Linked DNA regions of Homo sapiens: all the other regions are linked to region 5. The links are contacts of gene promoters, found by promoter capture Hi-C in blood cells and fetal thymus (Javierre and others, 2016). All regions are on one chromosome and are shown on one strand. The core of a region is centred on a gene start or on the middle of the fragment in contact, and the rest is flanking DNA. Distances in the headings are between cores, read along the strand shown. Region 1 has its middle 6.3 kb from the start of SELENON. Region 2 overlaps MAN1C1 (mannosidase alpha class 1C member 1). Region 3 overlaps MAN1C1 (mannosidase alpha class 1C member 1). Region 4 overlaps MAN1C1 (mannosidase alpha class 1C member 1). Region 5 holds the start of LDLRAP1 (low density lipoprotein receptor adaptor protein 1). Region 6 overlaps MAN1C1 (mannosidase alpha class 1C member 1).

Evidence for each region. The method cuts DNA at HindIII sites, captures the fragments that hold promoters and counts their contacts. A CHiCAGO score of 5 or more calls a contact.
Region 1: a fragment that was not itself captured here is called in contact with the fragment with the promoter of LDLRAP1 in region 5 in 6 of 17 cell types (naive CD4 T cells, naive CD8 T cells, total CD8 T cells and 3 more); the score reaches 8.9 in naive CD4 T cells.
Region 2: a fragment that was not itself captured here is called in contact with the fragment with the promoter of LDLRAP1 in region 5 in 3 of 17 cell types (naive CD4 T cells, total CD4 T cells and non-activated CD4 T cells); the score reaches 7.7 in naive CD4 T cells.
Region 3: a fragment that was not itself captured here is called in contact with the fragment with the promoter of LDLRAP1 in region 5 in 4 of 17 cell types (megakaryocytes, naive CD4 T cells, non-activated CD4 T cells and 1 more); the score reaches 6.9 in megakaryocytes.
Region 4: a fragment that was not itself captured here is called in contact with the fragment with the promoter of LDLRAP1 in region 5 in 1 of 17 cell types (naive CD4 T cells); the score reaches 6.1 in naive CD4 T cells.
Region 6: a contact is called between a fragment that was not itself captured here and the fragment with the promoter of LDLRAP1 in region 5, in 1 of 17 cell types (naive CD4 T cells). The highest score is 7.2, in naive CD4 T cells.

The regions. Positions count from the first base shown.
Region 1 is chr1:25,792,515-25,795,214 of GRCh38, forward strand. No RefSeq gene overlaps it. Among named protein-coding and RNA genes, the nearest start is that of SELENON, 6.3 kb to the right of the region's middle. The HindIII fragment of the contact is 4,966 bases long and covers 1-2,700 here.
Region 2 is chr1:25,693,904-25,696,603 of GRCh38, forward strand. The region is part of intron 2 of MAN1C1 (mannosidase alpha class 1C member 1); the gene reads left to right. Among named protein-coding and RNA genes, the nearest start is that of MAN1C1, 78 kb to the left of the region's middle. RefSeq lists an enhancer at 1,807-2,306 and a silencer at 2,035-2,329. The HindIII fragment of the contact is 4,437 bases long and covers 1-2,700 here.
Region 3 is chr1:25,764,747-25,767,446 of GRCh38, forward strand. The region is part of intron 7 of MAN1C1 (mannosidase alpha class 1C member 1); the gene reads left to right. Among named protein-coding and RNA genes, the nearest start is that of SELENON, 34 kb to the right of the region's middle. The HindIII fragment of the contact is 477 bases long and covers 1,184-1,660 here.
Region 4 is chr1:25,713,121-25,715,820 of GRCh38, forward strand. All of the region lies in intron 2 of MAN1C1 (mannosidase alpha class 1C member 1), which reads left to right. Among named protein-coding and RNA genes, the nearest start is that of SELENON, 86 kb to the right of the region's middle. The HindIII fragment of the contact is 172 bases long and covers 1,261-1,432 here.
Region 5 is chr1:25,542,242-25,544,941 of GRCh38, forward strand. LDLRAP1 (low density lipoprotein receptor adaptor protein 1) reads left to right here and starts at 1,365. Exons shown (of 9, transcript NM_015627.3): 1 at 1,365-1,545. The coding sequence starts at 1,458. RefSeq lists an enhancer at 1,035-1,094 and silencers at 1,195-1,654, 1,685-1,864. The HindIII fragment of the contact is 5,608 bases long and covers 421-2,700 here.
Region 6 is chr1:25,738,191-25,740,890 of GRCh38, forward strand. The region is part of intron 2 of MAN1C1 (mannosidase alpha class 1C member 1); the gene reads left to right. Among named protein-coding and RNA genes, the nearest start is that of SELENON, 61 kb to the right of the region's middle. The HindIII fragment of the contact is 453 bases long and covers 1,066-1,518 here.

The DNA of each region.
Region 1 (2,700 bases), core at 87-2,586, 250 kb after region 5:
AAAAAAAATTTTTTTTGAGATATAATGTAGATACAGTAATGTGTAAAATGCACTATTCTTTTTTTTTTTTTTTTTTTTTTGAGACACGATGTCACTCTGTCGCCCAGGCTGGCGTGCAATGGCGCAATCTCAGCTCACTGCAAATTCCGCCTCCCAGGTTTAAGCGATTCTCATGCTTCAGCCTCCCGAGTAGCTGGGACTACAGGACCACACCCGGCTAATTTTTGTATTTTTGGTAGAAACGGGGTTTCACCATGTTAGCCAGGTTGTTCTTGAACTCCTGACCTCAGGTGATCCACCCGCCTCAGCCTCCCAAAGTGTCGGGATTACAGGCGTGAGCCATTGCACCCAGCCTAAAACGCACTATTCTTAAATGACCAGCTCAAGGAATGTTGACCTATATGCACGCTCATATGACCACCTCCCCAGTCAAGATCAAGACTATTCCAGCACCCAGAAGGCTTGCATGTGCTGCTTCTAGTCAATACCTGCCATCCCCAGAGCAAACCCTATGTGGACCTCTTTCACCATCACCTAATTTCAGGCACAGACATTTCATTCTTTTCATGGTTTTTTGCATTATAAACATTCCACTGAGGCTGGGTATAGTGGCTCACACCTGTAATCCCAGCACTTTGGGAGGTCAAGGCGGGAGGCTGGCTTGAGGCCAGGAGTTCAAGGCTGCAGTGAGCTATGATCATGCCATAGCACTGCAGCCAGGGCAACAGAGTGAGACCCCATCTCAAAATAAAATAGGCTGGGTATAGTGGCTCACAACCATAATCCCAGCACTTTCGGAGGCCGAGGTGGGCGGATCACCTGAGGTCAGGAGTTAGAGACCAGCCTGGCCAACATGGTGAAACCCCATCTCTACTAAACATACAAAAATTAGCCGGGTGTGGTGGCAGGCGCCTGTAATCCCAGCTACTCGGGAGGCTGAGGTGGGAGGCTCTCTTGAGCCCAGGAGGCAGAGGTAAGAGGATCAGTTGAGCCTGGGAGGCAGAGATTGCAGTGAGCTGAAGTTGCACCACTGTACTCCAGCCAGGGTGACAGTGAGACCTTGTCTCAAAAAAAAAAAAAAATCCTCTGCATTTTCTGTCTTAATTTATATGATACAACTTATAACCACTTAGCTCCTGTCTAATAAGGATGCTCACACTTTCTTGTCTGGTCATTATGAAGCCCTCTTGTACCCATTTGTGGTAAAAAAAAAAAAAACCTCTGAAGTGCACAACCAAGATCAGAGATGATGAAATAAAGCCTCTCAGATGCAAGCTGAGCTATGCCTCTCCCTTGTTTGGGTGACTAGCTCATCCCAGTTAGGGCTTTCTTGCTTGTAGGACCGAATATCCCACATCCTCGGTGCTCCATCAGTGTCAGTCCTGAGCAGACCAGGGTGGCTGACCCCCCAGCACGGTTCCCTCCTTGGCCCTGGACCCAGTTCAAAACACACAAGACAAGTGGAACAGAATTCAGGCCAGATCATCCGGTACCATCTGCCTGTGCCTGACACTCACCGTTGGAAAGGCCCCGAATGTCAAACTCTTTTTTGTGGCTTGTGTGTGGAACTTGGCCGTCTTTACATTTTCTCCCTCAAAATCACTGGAGAGCTGGTAAAAATGTCCCTCTTTCCCCCAACCAACTGGGGGTTGGCCCCAAGCATTGGTCTCCTTCAAAGGCCCCAGGTGACTAGTGGGCAGCCAGGCTGGGTAACCAGGACCTCTGCACTCGTGATGCTGAGACTAAATCTGTCCATCTGGCAAAGTCCCGGGGGCATTTACTGACCCCGGGAAACAAATCTCTCTCCCAGCCTGGACAGTACGAGAGCCAAGCCAAGCCTGTCATGACCTCTAACGTTAATCTATTTTTTGGCTAATCACAGCCACAGCTCCATGCCTGTAAATCCAGCCAAAGCCACTCAACATTCCAAGACACGGCGGCATCTGTGGCCACATAGGCCAAAGGCGGCTTCTCTTCTCTCTCTTCAATGATCTCATTGAATCTTGTGGCTTTAAGTGCCATTTTTAGACTGGCAACTCCCAGATTTATAATCCACGCCCCCCTTCCCTACCGTTCATAGCCCCATAGTCATACACACACAACTGCCTCCTTGACACCTCCGTGAGGGTGACTCTCAGGCATCTTTTTTTTTTTTTTTGAGCTGGAGTCTCCCTCTATCACCAGGCTGGAGTGCAGTGGTGTGATCTTGGCTCACTGCAACCTCAGCCTTCCAGGTTCAAGCGATTCTCCTGCCTCAGCCTCCCGAGTAGCTGGGACTACAGGCGTGCGCCACCACGCCCAGCTAATTTTTTGTATTTTTAGTAAAGATGGGGTTTCACCATGTTGGCCAGGATGGTCTCGACCTCCTGACCTCATGATCCGCCCACCCCAGCATCCCAAAGTGCTGGGATTATAGGCGTGAGCCACCACGCCCAGCCAGCTCTCAGGCATCTTAACCTGGCAGACTGGACCAAGCCTTCTCCCCAGCCGGGGTCCCTCCAGGGTGCCTCATCTCAGGATGGTGCCACCAGCTACCCAAGCTCAACCCATGGCTGATGCTGGTCTTTCCTCTTGCCGTCCACTTCTGACCCATCCGCAAATCCTGTCTGTGGCTCTGCTACACTCATATATCTTGTCCACGCCTGCCCAATCCCTGCCATCTTATGTCTGGGCGACTGCATTAGCCTCCTGTCTCCCTCC
Region 2 (2,700 bases), core at 151-2,650, 150 kb after region 5:
AAAGAAAGTTGATGGGTGTAAAACACCTGGTGTATAGTACCTGCCCATATACATTCATAAAATGTAGGCTGCTGTGATTATTATGTTTGTAAAAAGTAATAATGAGAATAAGTATAGTCCAAGGAAAGAAACAGTGCCTGGTGCAGAGTAGGCTTTCAGTACATTTTGTAGAATAAATAAATTGCCTAGTGCAGTCTCTGAGTGCCCTATTTTCCCTCATGTCCTTCGGCCTGGGTTTGGCTGGGTAAGGGCTGGGTCTTGCTGTGTTCTCTATTCCTCTCATCCCCTGCAGCTGCCTTGACCTCTCGTCACAGAGTACACTCCGAATCAGCAGACAGACCCTGTAAAAAGTAGCAGTTCTGCTTAGTCAGCAGATCTGATGTTCAGGCCTCTTCTCTGTGCTTGTGTGGCCAAAAGTAACATCTCCCTGCTCTGAGCCAGCCCCAGGATGACCATGAGGAGCCCCAAATTGGATTCCGCCTCTGCCTCGCAAATCCCCAATAGAACTGCCAGCCAAATCCCCATTTTGAGGGATGATTTATGGCCTTGGGTGAGTTAAGAGGCAAAATGAACACAGCATGATTTTCAGATCACAGGCTGGGAATGTTCAGCCTTGGCAGAGAGAAAAATCATCTTTGCCTTGTAAACGGAGCAAATATGATGTTGAAGAGGGAATAAATCCAGGCCCCAAGATGTCATTTTTACAATTGCTTTTTGGCGTGTGACTTAGTAGTGCCTTCTGCAAACTGTTCATACTCTCCCCCTCCACACACACACACCAGCCTTGGTGGGTCTTTTTGTCGGGGTGAGAGTTACTCCACCAGTGTGGCTGCCTTGGGAACTGCAGATGTTGCCAGATAGATAGTTTGTGAAAACCAGCTGCTTCCCTAGTACGTGGATCTCCACGTATGTTTCTGGGAGGTAGCAGCTTTGACTTCAGAGATATGCCTGGGTTTAAATCCCATCCCTAGCACTTACCAGCTGAGTGAAATTGGGCAAGTCACAAACTTCTCTGAACCTCAGTCTACTCACCTGTGAAATGGGGGGTTAGCACATAGTAAGCCTTCACCAAACATTACATTTTTTTTCTTCCCTGCAGGTATACACACCCTTCCCGGTGTATACATTTGACTTATCTGGCTGAAAATACCATAACTACTTGATGAGTTTTGGTTTTTGGAGGTTTTTTTCTGGAGAAAAAAAATCCATAGCTCCTGGAAACTCAGTGTTGGGCTATGTTGCTCACTGATTCTGGCAGGCCGCGGTGCACATTCCTGACCCAGGCTTTGAGTTTGTTTTGAGAAAAAGCTGTCATCAGCTTTGTAAGTGGTGATGTTGCAATTCCTTGGATAGAATGGGTCAGGCTTAAGGGCAGCAAGCAAACCTTCCTGGTAGTCACATGCTTTGAGAGCCCTGAAAGCGCCATCCGGAGGCCAGAGGATATAAAAGTCGGAGGAAATGGCTTAGGAGCACTGGTCACTGATAGCCAGGCCCTTAGCCCAAGGAAGATAAGAGAACCTGCTGTTAGACAGATGCTACGGCCCCATGGTGGTCTCCTTGTGGCCTTGAGTGACATGTGCACAATTCCTCGGCCACCTTCTGATGATCAGAACATTCCTGGGGCCCAAGGGGTGATCATCAGAGCAAAGCACGCCTCGAAATTAGCTTGCTGCAGTGTCGTGCACTCACACCGCCGACCGACCACTCACCGCTCCACACTCTGCGCTTTCCTTCTTCAAAGAGTTTTTGCCAAGCAGTTTCTAATTAAGATGCATCTTGGCCATTTTCTTGTTCTTTAAAAGGCTTTCCACTAGCACAGAGCATAATTTATTTCTCTAGAAAATATAGTAGCAAGTTGTTGTCAAAAGAAAATTGGAGGTTAGGAGCCTTGGGTTCGTGTCCCCGCTCTGGCGCCAGCAGCCGAGTGAGCCGGCCTCCTCTGGGCCTCGTCTCTTCATCAGTACAAAGGGGTTTGCTTTGTCTCTGCCCAGGGTTCTGTGACTGCTGGTTGGTTACTAGGTTGATTTCTTTCTGTCTTTCTTTCTTTTTCATTTCGAAGGGGGTATTGGGCTGGTCTTCTTGGAATCTGAGATTTCAGCAACAAGTCTTGTTCCTGTCAGGAGAGGAGTGAGTCAGGGTGTCTATTCCCAGAGCAAGTTGCTGGGGATGTAGGAGATGATTCATATTGAAATTGACATTCTCTCCTGGTGGCAGCGTGTTCCGCCCACTTTGCGAAGACCTTTCCTTCCTTAGAAACAAGGCTGAGCCTACAGCAAGAGCCTCCTTTTCTTCTCACCGCATTGATGGCAGCACTTGCCAAGTTTCCCAGCAAACCCTGTGACAAATAGGTATGTGCATTCCCAGAATCTCAGACTACCAGGCCACTTGGATCCTTTGTAGCCTGTGGTCCAGTGTCTGAGGACCGGGAGGCAGGTCCTGAGAGGGCCGGGACTACCTGAGGTCAGACAGCCAGGATCGAACCCTGGTCTTCTAACTTGAGCCTCTATTTTTTTTTTGTTTTAAAATTACTTTTTAAAAATTGGGGTATAACTTATAACATGTCTACATTAAATTGCACAAATCTTAAGTGCACAGTCTAATGGATTTTACATATAGTTACCTCTGTGTAACTGCCATGCAGGTCAAGATTAAAAGCATTTCCATCACCCTAAAAGGTTCTCTCAGGTCCCTCCTAGTCTG
Region 3 (2,700 bases), core at 172-2,671, 220 kb after region 5:
AACAAACAAACAAAAACCATACAACAGTGTAGAAATCATGAATTCAGGCCAAGCACCTGACGGGAGGCCGAGGCAGGCGGATCACGAGGTCAGGAGTTCTAGACCAGCCTGGCCAACATGGCGAAACCCTGTCTCTACTAAAAATACAAAAAGTAGCTGGGTGTGGTGGCACGTGTCTCTAGTCCCAGCTACTCAGGAGGCTGAGGCAGGAGAATCGCTTGAACCCGGGAGGCGGAGGTTGCAGTGAGCCAAGACCGCACCACTGCACTTCAACCTGGGCGACAGAGCAAGACTCCGTCCCAAAAAAAAACAAAAGACGTCATGAATTCATCTATACATCTTAGACCTACAAGAATCAGTCCCAGAGTTTTCAGAAGGTCTCTGTTCAGAGACTTGTTTCTCAGCCAGATAACAGCCAGTCACCCATGGAACATCATTCACAAGCCCCCAGCCCTACCCATTGCAACAGAATGGGGTTTGGGGTCGCTTAGGTGTGAGAGTGTGGACAAGTCCCCCAGGCCTCTGGAATGTGCATGCCTGTTGAGAAGCCCAGCTCTGGGAAGCAGAGGCAGGCCCTGGTCACATGGTCATGGTCAGCTGGAACTGGCAGTGACAGGTTCCGTGGGCACTGCCTCTAGGGCCTCCCAAGACCTGGCAGAGCCCCCACCCCCACTGTCTGTGTGCAAACAAGGACCCCCTTCCCTTTCCCCTGCCTCCAACCCAGTTTTTGTGACATCAGCAAGGGCTCAGGGGCAAAGTGGGTATGAGTCTAATGACTGTGTGGCTTAGGGGGGAATTCACTGTATCTCTTTGAACCTTGGTTTCCTGTCCTGCAAAATGAAAGAAGAGAATGAGATGCATTCTTTGTGTGCCATGGAGGGGCGTAGGAAGAATGGTCAAAGGCTGCAGGAAACAGATTTCACTTCCATCTGCCAAAGATGGTCCAAGTTGTCCCAAAAGGGAACAATGCAAGTGGGGCCTAGAGAGGCAGCATTGGGGACACTGTGGCGAAGCAGCTGAGGCCTTTCCTTCCAACCTGAACCTCCCCCAGAAAACTCAACCCAGGAATTTCCCCCAGGGACGACCTCACCCCAAGTGGCCTCCCGTAAAAACCACTTAGAGAAATGCAGAGTATTTTTAACCAAAACACACTGCCGAATCCAAAAGTACGGGGAGAAAATGAAGCTTGAATTGCAGATTATAGCCACGGGAAGAGGCAGTTCGATAACAGTTGCTGGTTTTAATTGCGAGACCTGACTGGATAAGGAGATAAACCCCTCTGAGCTGCTCCAGGGCAAGGCAGCAGAACCCATGAAAAGGGCTGAAAGGGGTGTGGGCTTCCTAGCTCAACAGTTACCTTGGCAAATTATAAGGGAGCCCCTGCCGGGAAGCATAATTTTCTTCTCAGGCAGAGTCAGGGCCTGCAGGTCTGGGCAAAGTCAGTCGCATATGGGAAATTGTTTCCTATTAATAAAATCTGAGCCCTCGGCCTGCTAAAGAGCAGAGGGGGTTATAATGCCCAGCTCGCCCAAACGTCTGCCTTCCTCCTCCCCTGGCCTTGGTGCCCGGGGTCATCTCAGGTTTCCTGTGGTTTTTTGTTGGTTTTTTTTTTGGTGCATACGTATTCTTTTAGCACTTGATAGCATTACCACCTTGCATAAGCTTAAGTGCACGCACATCATTTTCTCTTCTTGAATCTTCAGAACAAGCCTGAAGGCAGGACAGGCAGGTTCTGCGTAGCCCATTTGCAACCACAGAAATTGCAGCCTAGAGAAACGAAGGAGGAGTTAGGACTGCATCTCAGTTACCTAGGCCTCTGCTCTTGTTGGCTTCCCACTCCTCCTGGAAACCGAGCTTCAGGGGTAACAGGGGAGCCCCAAGACCCGTCCTATTGCTAAGAGTTCACATCCAGGATAAATCCACCAGGCTCCCGATGGTGCCCAACACAAATGAGACCACCCTGAGGCCAACCCCCTGAGAGCTGCCGAGGAGGGGTCACCAGCCCCTCGGTGCGGCACCTGAGTAACTTGTCCACTGCCTGAATCCCACACTTTCTTCTGTGGGAGGGAAGTGGCAAGTCCAGACCTCCTTGGTAGGTACAGGAGTGTGAGCTGCAGCCTGGCAGCTTCCCTGGCATCAGATCGGCTGATTTCCAGGCTTGTGGCCCAGCCTCCTGCTGCCAGGTGTGACGAGCGCATTGGCACGGTCAGGAAGCAGCAGAGCCTGCCTCTGCTCTGGGGCTCACGGACACCAGCTCGTGCCCCCTTCACACATCTGCAGATGGGGAGACCAAGGCCCAGAGTGGGCAGGGGTGCACCCTGAGCTAATGCAGAACAATGTCTTCTCATTCCTATGCCTGTGCTTCTCCCAGCCCGCCTCGCAGTGTTGGGGAAGACCACACTCGTACACACACACACACACCCCTACCACCCCACCCACCCTCCCAGACACACACACATTACACACTCCCCCATACACACACACCCACACTCCCCTCACATCCACACTCCCCTCACACACACACATTACACACTACATACACTCCTACTCTCCCCTCACACACCCACACTCCCCTCACACACTCCCCCCACACACAGACCCACACACCACTACCCTCACATACGTCCACACTCCACACACACACACACACACCCCTACCACCCCACCCACCCTCCCAGACACACACACATTACACACTCC
Region 4 (2,700 bases), core at 97-2,596, 170 kb after region 5:
TGGGGAAACTGAGGTCATTACAGATGAGGTAAATAACTTGCCTGGGGTCACACAGGCCTCCTGCCTGCCTCTCAGTCCAGTGCTCTTTCTACTATATGTCATGTCCTCTCATAATGAGGTGGGGGTGGGGAACAAGGAGATGGAGGGATGTGTTGGGTGCTTTTGTGTTACCACATTGCACCCTCATCACAGTCAGGTGAGATGGTGCCATACCCACTTTATAGATGAGGAAACAGACCCAGGTAAGCTGAGTGATTTGCCCAGCATAAGCATACCAAATGGCAAAGCAAAATTCATACGCAGGTTTTGAGTCTCCACAGCAGCAGGCAGAGACCTACTTTCTAGAAAGAGTTTATTAGGGTCCAGTCTAGTGGGTGAAACAGATAAGCAGGACACGACAGTGCACAATCTAGGCACAGGCTCTTGAAAGCAGCTCTCTGGAGGCTGGAACTATTTTGCTAGAGGTGTTTGGATGCTGCTGTCTAACCCGAGACATGGAGTTTATATAGGACTGTTGGGCCCTAAGCCTTCCTGATTCATATGAGGTCTGAAAAGAGGCCCATGGATGTGCCTCATCTCCGGCCTCTGTTCAGACTAGGGTACACAGACACATAAATCGTTATAATGCAGCCTGCACAGGTGATCAGAGGGCCATGGAGAAGGCATTCCTTGGGCTCAGTTTAACACAGCACCAGAGTTTGGACTTCGCTGGGCCCAGTGTCTGCTCTTTGCTGCCGGGAACCAAGGCTCCAGGTTCCTCATGCACTTGCAAGTGACTGGAGCTTCCGAGGGAGTTAAATCAACCTTCGTGTTTCCTGTAGCCCCTCCTCAAATAGACACACCAGCTGGCATTTTTCCTTAAATACCACTCATTTTTAAAAGGGGAAAAAAATGTTGGTGGCTTTGAAATAGATCACACTTTAAAATGCAGCGTAGCAGAGAGTCAGTTCAAATTATTCTCTTAATAGAGTTCTTCAGAGTGAGGAAGTGATGAGGGAACATAATCACTTCTTTTGTCATATGGGCGAAATCTGAGGACTGCGATTCATTTGTCTGCAAATGTGTCTCTTCGGTACAAATTGCAGCAAGCAATCCATTCCCAGGGTAAATGGTCTTTAATTAAAGTCAGTCAGTTGTCTTGGATGGTTAGGGGAGGAGAGGGGTTTGAAGCACAAACTAATACACACTTTTATCCCTTCAAAAATAAAAAAGAATATATTTCTAAGTGACATTGACTCCTTGATTTGATAATTAGGGAAAAGCTTTGTTTATAAGTAAAACTATTCTGGCTCTTATTCATGAATAAAAATGTTTGCAGTAAGGCCTCTGAGAAGCAGTAGAAGAATTTCTTTACCAACCCTGGTAAAAATGCATCCTCAAGCATTGATTTTTGTAGCTGAAGTGCATTATGTGTTCTGCATGAGCTTTTGAAAGCTTAGATAAATGAGGTGGCTCAGAAAGCAGATAAAAAAAAATGGGAGGAAATTATACCGATCCAAAAGAAGATAAATGTCCACTAATTCTCAGATTAACATTTTAGACTCCTGTGTTTTTATAGGGGAATTTTTGCAATGCTGATAATGTGAGATTGGTTTACAATGTCACATACCAGGTAGAATCAATGAAGCTTTGTTCGAGCTCTCAGAGTCAGCTACACTCTAAAGGAAGTGGAGTTAATGCCACAAGCTGGTGGTACCCTGGCTCCCACCTGTATTAAGTGCTAGCACTACACCTAAGATGACATATTTTAAGGGTGACATTGACCCTCAAGGTCAACTATGTTAGTCTGCACTCTCCAGTTTGCAAGATGCAAAAAAACTCAAGCCCATTTAAGTTCAATTTACTAGATCACTTGATTGAAAGTCACTAGGATTAGACTTCAGGCACAGCTTGATCCACGTCTCAAATGAAGACGGACACTCTGTTTATTTCTCTTCCCTGTGGCCTGTTTTCACTGTCTTCATTCTCAGGTTGTTCTTCCTTGATGTGAACAAGCTGGTACAACAACTTTAGCCTGCCCAACCTGTGTCTGGTGCAGAAGAGCTAGTGCCACTCTGTTTCAGTTTAAGCCCAAAATTAGTGCTGGTGAGCTTTAATTGGGCCCATGGCTCTGCCTATCCCTAACTCATCCTCATGTCCAGAGGGATGAAAGGGCTGGACTGACCAAGGCCTAGGTCACATGATCATTCCCATTGCTGGGGTCAAGGCAGTTCTACCTCAAGCAGAACATGGACTAGGAGTTGGGAAGGAGGGGAGGTGTAGAAGGTGATTCAGGGACCCGTCAACTAGAGAAAGTATAGGTGGATGCTGGGCTGTGAAACCCTAGATTTCTGCCACATCAGCCTTTCACTCCTTCTCTCAACGAATACCTAAGCACTCACAACAGACTTTGTGGACCTAGGTGTGAAAGTTACTGTGGTGAACAGAAAGGTCCAGGCTCTGCCCTCAGAGAGCATCTAGCTGGTCTTGTGCCAGGGCTTGAACCATGCCATGGTCTTTCAGCTGACTAGATGTCTTTACTGAGCACCTACTATGTGCCAAGCCCTGGAAACAGAAAGATGAGGAAAGCCAGGGCCTCTCCCTTGAGCAGTATAGAGCAGAAGAACGATGGTGGTTTCAGGAGAGCCTGAGGCACTAAGGATGCTAGCACTTCACATCTTTCTCTGCTACTGTTCATTTTATCTGGTAGGATTGGATTCT
Region 5 (2,700 bases), core at 115-2,614:
AAATCCTTCCAATCCTGGAGTTAGAACATCTGTGCCTGAGCAATTCTGGGGTTCAGACTGCCCTCCGAATGCTCCTAGGAAGCAGCTTGGGGTCAGGGTCAAGGTCATGCAGATTCTTGACCCTGGCAGGTTGGAAGGATCACTAGAGATAGCATTGACTCTCATTCACAGATAAACAAGACTCAGAGAGGGGAAGTACTTGCCTGAGGTCACACAGCAAGTCAGTGTCAGGGGCACGTTCCAGATCATACCATCTGTGAGGCTACCTGGGAAGTTGCGGGGGCATGGGGTGGCCCAGCATGCTCAGGTGGTGCCAGGGAGCAGCCTGGGAGCTACGAGGATGAGTAAAGTGCCTGGCTGGACTTGCTAAAGGCAAATTTTTATATACCGACCCTGCGCCTAACAAGGGTCTATACTGCAAGCTTGTCCAACCTGTGGCCCACTGGCCATGTGAGGTCCAGGACGGCTTTGAATGGAGCCCAACACAAATTGGTAAAGGTTCTTAAAACATTATGAGATTTTTTTGGGCAGGGTGTGGTGGCTCACAGCCATCCCAGCACTTTGGGAGGCTGAGGCGGGCAGATCACTTGAGGTCAGGAGTTCGAGACCAGCCTGGCCAACATGGTAAAACTCCATCTCTATTAATAATACAAAAATTAGCCAGGCATGGTGGTGCATGCCTGTAATCCCAGCTACTCGGGAGGCTGAGGCATGAGAATAGCTTGAACCCGGGAGGTAGAGGTTGCAGTGACCCGAGATCGCACCACTGCACTCCAACCTGGGCAACAGAGTGAAACTCTGTCTCAGGGGAAAAAAAACAATACAGAAAAACAAAAAACATGAGTGTGTGTGTATATATATATATTTCAGCTCATCAGCTGTCGTTAGTGTTAGTGTATTTCATGTGTGGCCCAAGACACTTCTTCTTCCAATGTGGCCTAAGGAAGCCAAAAGTTTGGATATCCCTGGCTTACAGCCTCCACTATTTCCTAAGTCTCCCACTGCCCTGGACATCGCATTGCTTTTGTCCCTGAACAAGATCTTTCACCACTGGAGGAGCCCTCAGTCTCCCCATCTGTAAAATGGTCACTGGAAATCCTAGGCCGCTGCTCTCAGGCCCTCAGGCCCCTACGGGGTGGGGATTGGGGAAAAGGAGGAAAGCGGGGGCGTCTAGGGCTTGCGATTTGCTATCTTCTGGCGCCTTCGGGCGGCCTCGGAAACTCTTGGTGCCTGGACCTGGAGCCTGGACAGGGACCGGGCGGGGCGAGACCGGCCGTCGGGGGCGCGGCCCGTCTGGGGGCGGGGCCTGTCCTCTCTCGCCCCGCCCCGTCGGACGCCGCGGCGGAGCTGGCGCTGGGAGGGGAGGAGCGCGCAGCCCGCGCGCCGCAGGGCCGGGCGGAAAGTTTTTCCTGACGGAGTTTTGGCTGCGGCAGCGGCGGCGGCGGCCGGAGCGGGCCATGGACGCGCTCAAGTCGGCGGGGCGGGCGCTGATCCGGAGCCCCAGCTTGGCCAAGCAGAGCTGGGGGGGCGGTGGCCGGCACCGCAGTGAGTGTGCGCGCGTCAGCCGGGCCGGGCCGGGATCGGGCAGAGGCGCGCGGGGCCTCCGCGGGCGCCCGGAGTGCGGCCAAGTTGGGCAGAGGCGGGGCCTCACCGGCGCTCCGGTCCCGGCGTGGCCCTTTCCCGGCCCTGCGGGGCAGGGGGTCGGCCGGGGTCAAGTTGTGCACCTACTCGCCGGCCGCTCGATGCCGCTGCGAGGAGGGGCAGCGCTGAGGAAGGAGCCCGAGCTCGGGGTCCTCAGGTGCAGCCGGCATGGGGTGGGGTGCAGGTTGGGAGAAGAGGCCCCCGCCACCCGCGGCACCTCCCGCCCTGCTGTCCTGGCCAGCTAGGGGGAGGCAGGCGCTCGTCGTCGGTGCCTAGGGGAGGAGGAGAGGGCGCAGGGGCTTGGGAAGACGCCCCCGTCCCGCACCCCTGCGCCCCAGCCAGCAGCTGCGGCGGTCAGGAGCCCACTGGCCCGTTCTCCCGCCCCCTGCCCGACCCACCGGGCCAACTTTTGACTCCGGGTGCCCAGACACCCATCCAGGTGTGAGCCCGGGGTCGCAGGTACGTACTTGAAATTGGGAACGAGGCCCCGCCTGGGGTGCCTCGGGAGAGCCCCACATCAGGCGATCTAGACCCTTACGTCCCTTCCTCTAGCCGGGTCCAGGTGGCAAGCCTGGCGTCCCGACTATTTTTGAAACCTGTTTTCTCTCGCACCTTTCCCCTCGGGCTTCCAGAGTCCCTTGGGTGCCCAGGCAAACGACAGACTCGCCGCCACCTCTCCCTGGGGCGTCTGGGAGGCTGGGAGGGGCCTCCCCCCCTTTCTCTCCCCCAGTCTCTGATTACGCTCAGGGAACTTGTCACCTGGCACCTTCCCCTGAAGCCAGAAGACCCAGCCTAGCGCAGGTCTCGTTGTTTGGGAGGGAGAAGAGAGTGGCTTGCCTGGGGTCACACACACCTTCCTGCTGGTTTTGGAGCCAGAGCCCAGGACTGCTGCACACTCCCACCTCCCTGCCACCTACTTCGGGCCACAGCTTCTCCCCTCATCAGGAAACAACTGACAGTACAGCACCCCCTCATCCCATCCCCTCTTGGCCTTACAGGGCTCTGCCAGGGGAGCCCGAGCTCCCTGGTCCAAGGAGTGCCAGCGTGTCTGGGCCTAGA
Region 6 (2,700 bases), core at 42-2,541, 200 kb after region 5:
TCAGAGCACAGTGCTATGTCACCCAGGAAATAGCTATCATGGGAAAATTCAAGGAAAATATTCCTGCTCAAGGAAAAAAAATTAAAACACGACACACGAGAAACAGACCAGATAGAAATGGAGAGGTCCCAGTCCGTAAATGGGTTTTATGCCGCCAGAAGACCTCATCATATTAGACGATCTGGTTTTAAACAATAAACTTTGGGTAATGGGGATGTCACTTTAATTCATCTTCCTAAAAAACCCATGTGGCAAAAACATTCCAGTTGCTATTGCTACATTGCAAATTACTCCAAAACTTGGGGGCTTAAAACAATTATTTTATTATGCTCACAGATTGAGTGGGTCAGTAATTCAGAAAGGGCACAACAGGGGACAGCTTGTCTCTGTGCAGTCATGTATAGACCCTCAGCTGGGAAGGCTTGAAGGCTGAGGCTGACTCGACAGCTGGGTGGTAGTATTATCTGGAAGCTTTTTGAGTCATGCGTTGCAATTGATGCTGGCTGTTGGCTAGAACCTCAGATGGGACTGTCAGTCAGAAAACTGATACATGGCTCTCTACATGTTTTCTCCTTGAGAGCTAGCTATCTTGGGCTTCCTTACAGTATGGTGGCTGGTTCCAAGATCCAACATTCTGAGAGGCAGGAAGTGGAAGCTGCCAGTTTCTTAAGGTCTGGGCCTTAAGGTCAAGCCAGGCACAGTGGCTCACACCTGTAATCCCAGTGCTTTGGGAGACTGAGATGGGAGGATCGCTTGAGGCCAGGAGTTCAAGACCAGCCTGGACAACATAGTGAGACCCCCATCTCTACAAAAAAATTTTAAAAGTTATCCAGGCATGGTGGTGCACTCCTGTAGCCCCTGCTTCTCGGGAGTTCAAGGATGCAGTAAGCTATGATCACACCACTGCACTCCAGCCTGGATGACAGAGCAAGAGACCCTGTCTCAAAAAAATAAAGAAAATAGCACCTCATCCTTTCTGCTTCATTCCGTTGGTCCAGATGATCACAATGGTCTGCCCAGGTTCAAGGGGAGGAGCCATGGGAGGTGTGTCAGTGTCACAAGAAAAGCTTCGTTCTTCTTGTGGGATAAGATACACCACAGCAGCTGCCTTTGAAAAGATGGTCTGCCACACAGCCACATGGGTTTCTGTGGATGCTGAGAAAAACGTGTGTGTTGTTTCTTTACAGATTAAGAAAAGTCTGTGCATTGTCTCATTAAATTAAATGCAGCCATTAGTATGTGGCTCTGGGGATATTGTGGGAATAGGCTATGCCTTGGGTGATTTTTTTTCTTCTAAATGTTCTTCCTGGAGTTTGTGTTGCCAGCCTGACCATTTCTCTTTGCTAATATGATATCACATAAAAACATCATCATCATTAATATGGCAGAGTCAGCAGGGTGGGATACAGACCGTGATCCAGGGAGGCAGGCTGGTTCCTGGCTCAGCAGCTCCTGGGGAGGAGGTTCTGGGAGCTGGAGGTTCATTTCCTTGTAGAGATTGACACGCTCTTCACAGAAAGCTTTGTGCAGGGCGAGGCTTTGGGCACATGTTGTCACTCTGGGCAGCCTGGTGGGAGGGTCTTTGTCTAGTGGTGGCAGCCCCTGGAGTAGACACTTAACCCTGCTCTGGACGTAGTCACCACAGACGCCCATGCTGTGGGCTCGTTTTGTTCAGCCGAACCCCTTACCTTTAATGCCTCCTAGGGTCAGACTGTAGCCAGGCACTGGGAGTTGTGAATGCGCCACAGCCCCCCTTGAAGCCCTCCCCATCCAGTTGGAGGGGGCCTTTCTTTCATTCCTAAATACTTACGGGCCCCCGTGGGGGCTGGAAAGTGTTCTGGGCAGTGGAAGGTGGCGGTGAACCGAGTTCTCTCCCTAGGAGCCAACCCCTCAGGAGAAGACAGAGTGGCTGGGAAAGCAGATCCGTGCGTGATGCCCCTGGTGATGAAGGCTGGGGAAAACCAGAGAAGACAAGGAGACAGTGAGTGGCATGAACAGTTTCAGCAGAGTAGCCCGCAGCTACCAGGGCCTAGGCAAGGAGCAGGTTTGGAGGCCGAAGTGGAGGCTGAAGGGACAGCGTGCAGCCAAAGTGGAGGAGGAGAGGCAGTGAGGGAACCAGGACAGATCACAGGGCCCCAGGGACGGGAAGGACTAAGGCTTTCAACTCTCAGTCAGATGGGAGCCATGGGGGGTTTCGAGCAGAGGAGTGGCATGATATGACTTGAATTTTTGTTGTTGTTGTTGTTGTTGTTGTCGTTGTTGTTGTGACGGAGTCTCGCTCTGTCACCCAGGTTGAAGTGCAGTGGCGCTATCTCGGCTCACTGCAAGCTCCGCCTCCCGAGTTCATGCCATTCTCCTGTCTCAGCCTCCCAAGCAGCTGGGACTATAGGCGCCCGCCACCATGCCCGGCTAATTTTTTGTATTTTTAGTAGAGACGGGGTTTCACTGTGTTAGCCAGGATGGTCTCGATCTCCTGACCTCGTGATCCACCCGCCTTGGCCTCCCAAAGTGCTGGGATTACAGGCGTGAGCCACCGCGCCCGGCTGACTTGAATTTTTTAAAAAATCTCTCTGGCTGCAACGCTGAGGACAGATGGGTGGATCGGGGAAGAGGGAAGGGCAAGGGTAGATGCCAAGGGGGCGGGGAGGAAGCCAGTGGAATAAATGCAAGAGAGAGGAGGTAGCTGGGTCAGGGCAGTAG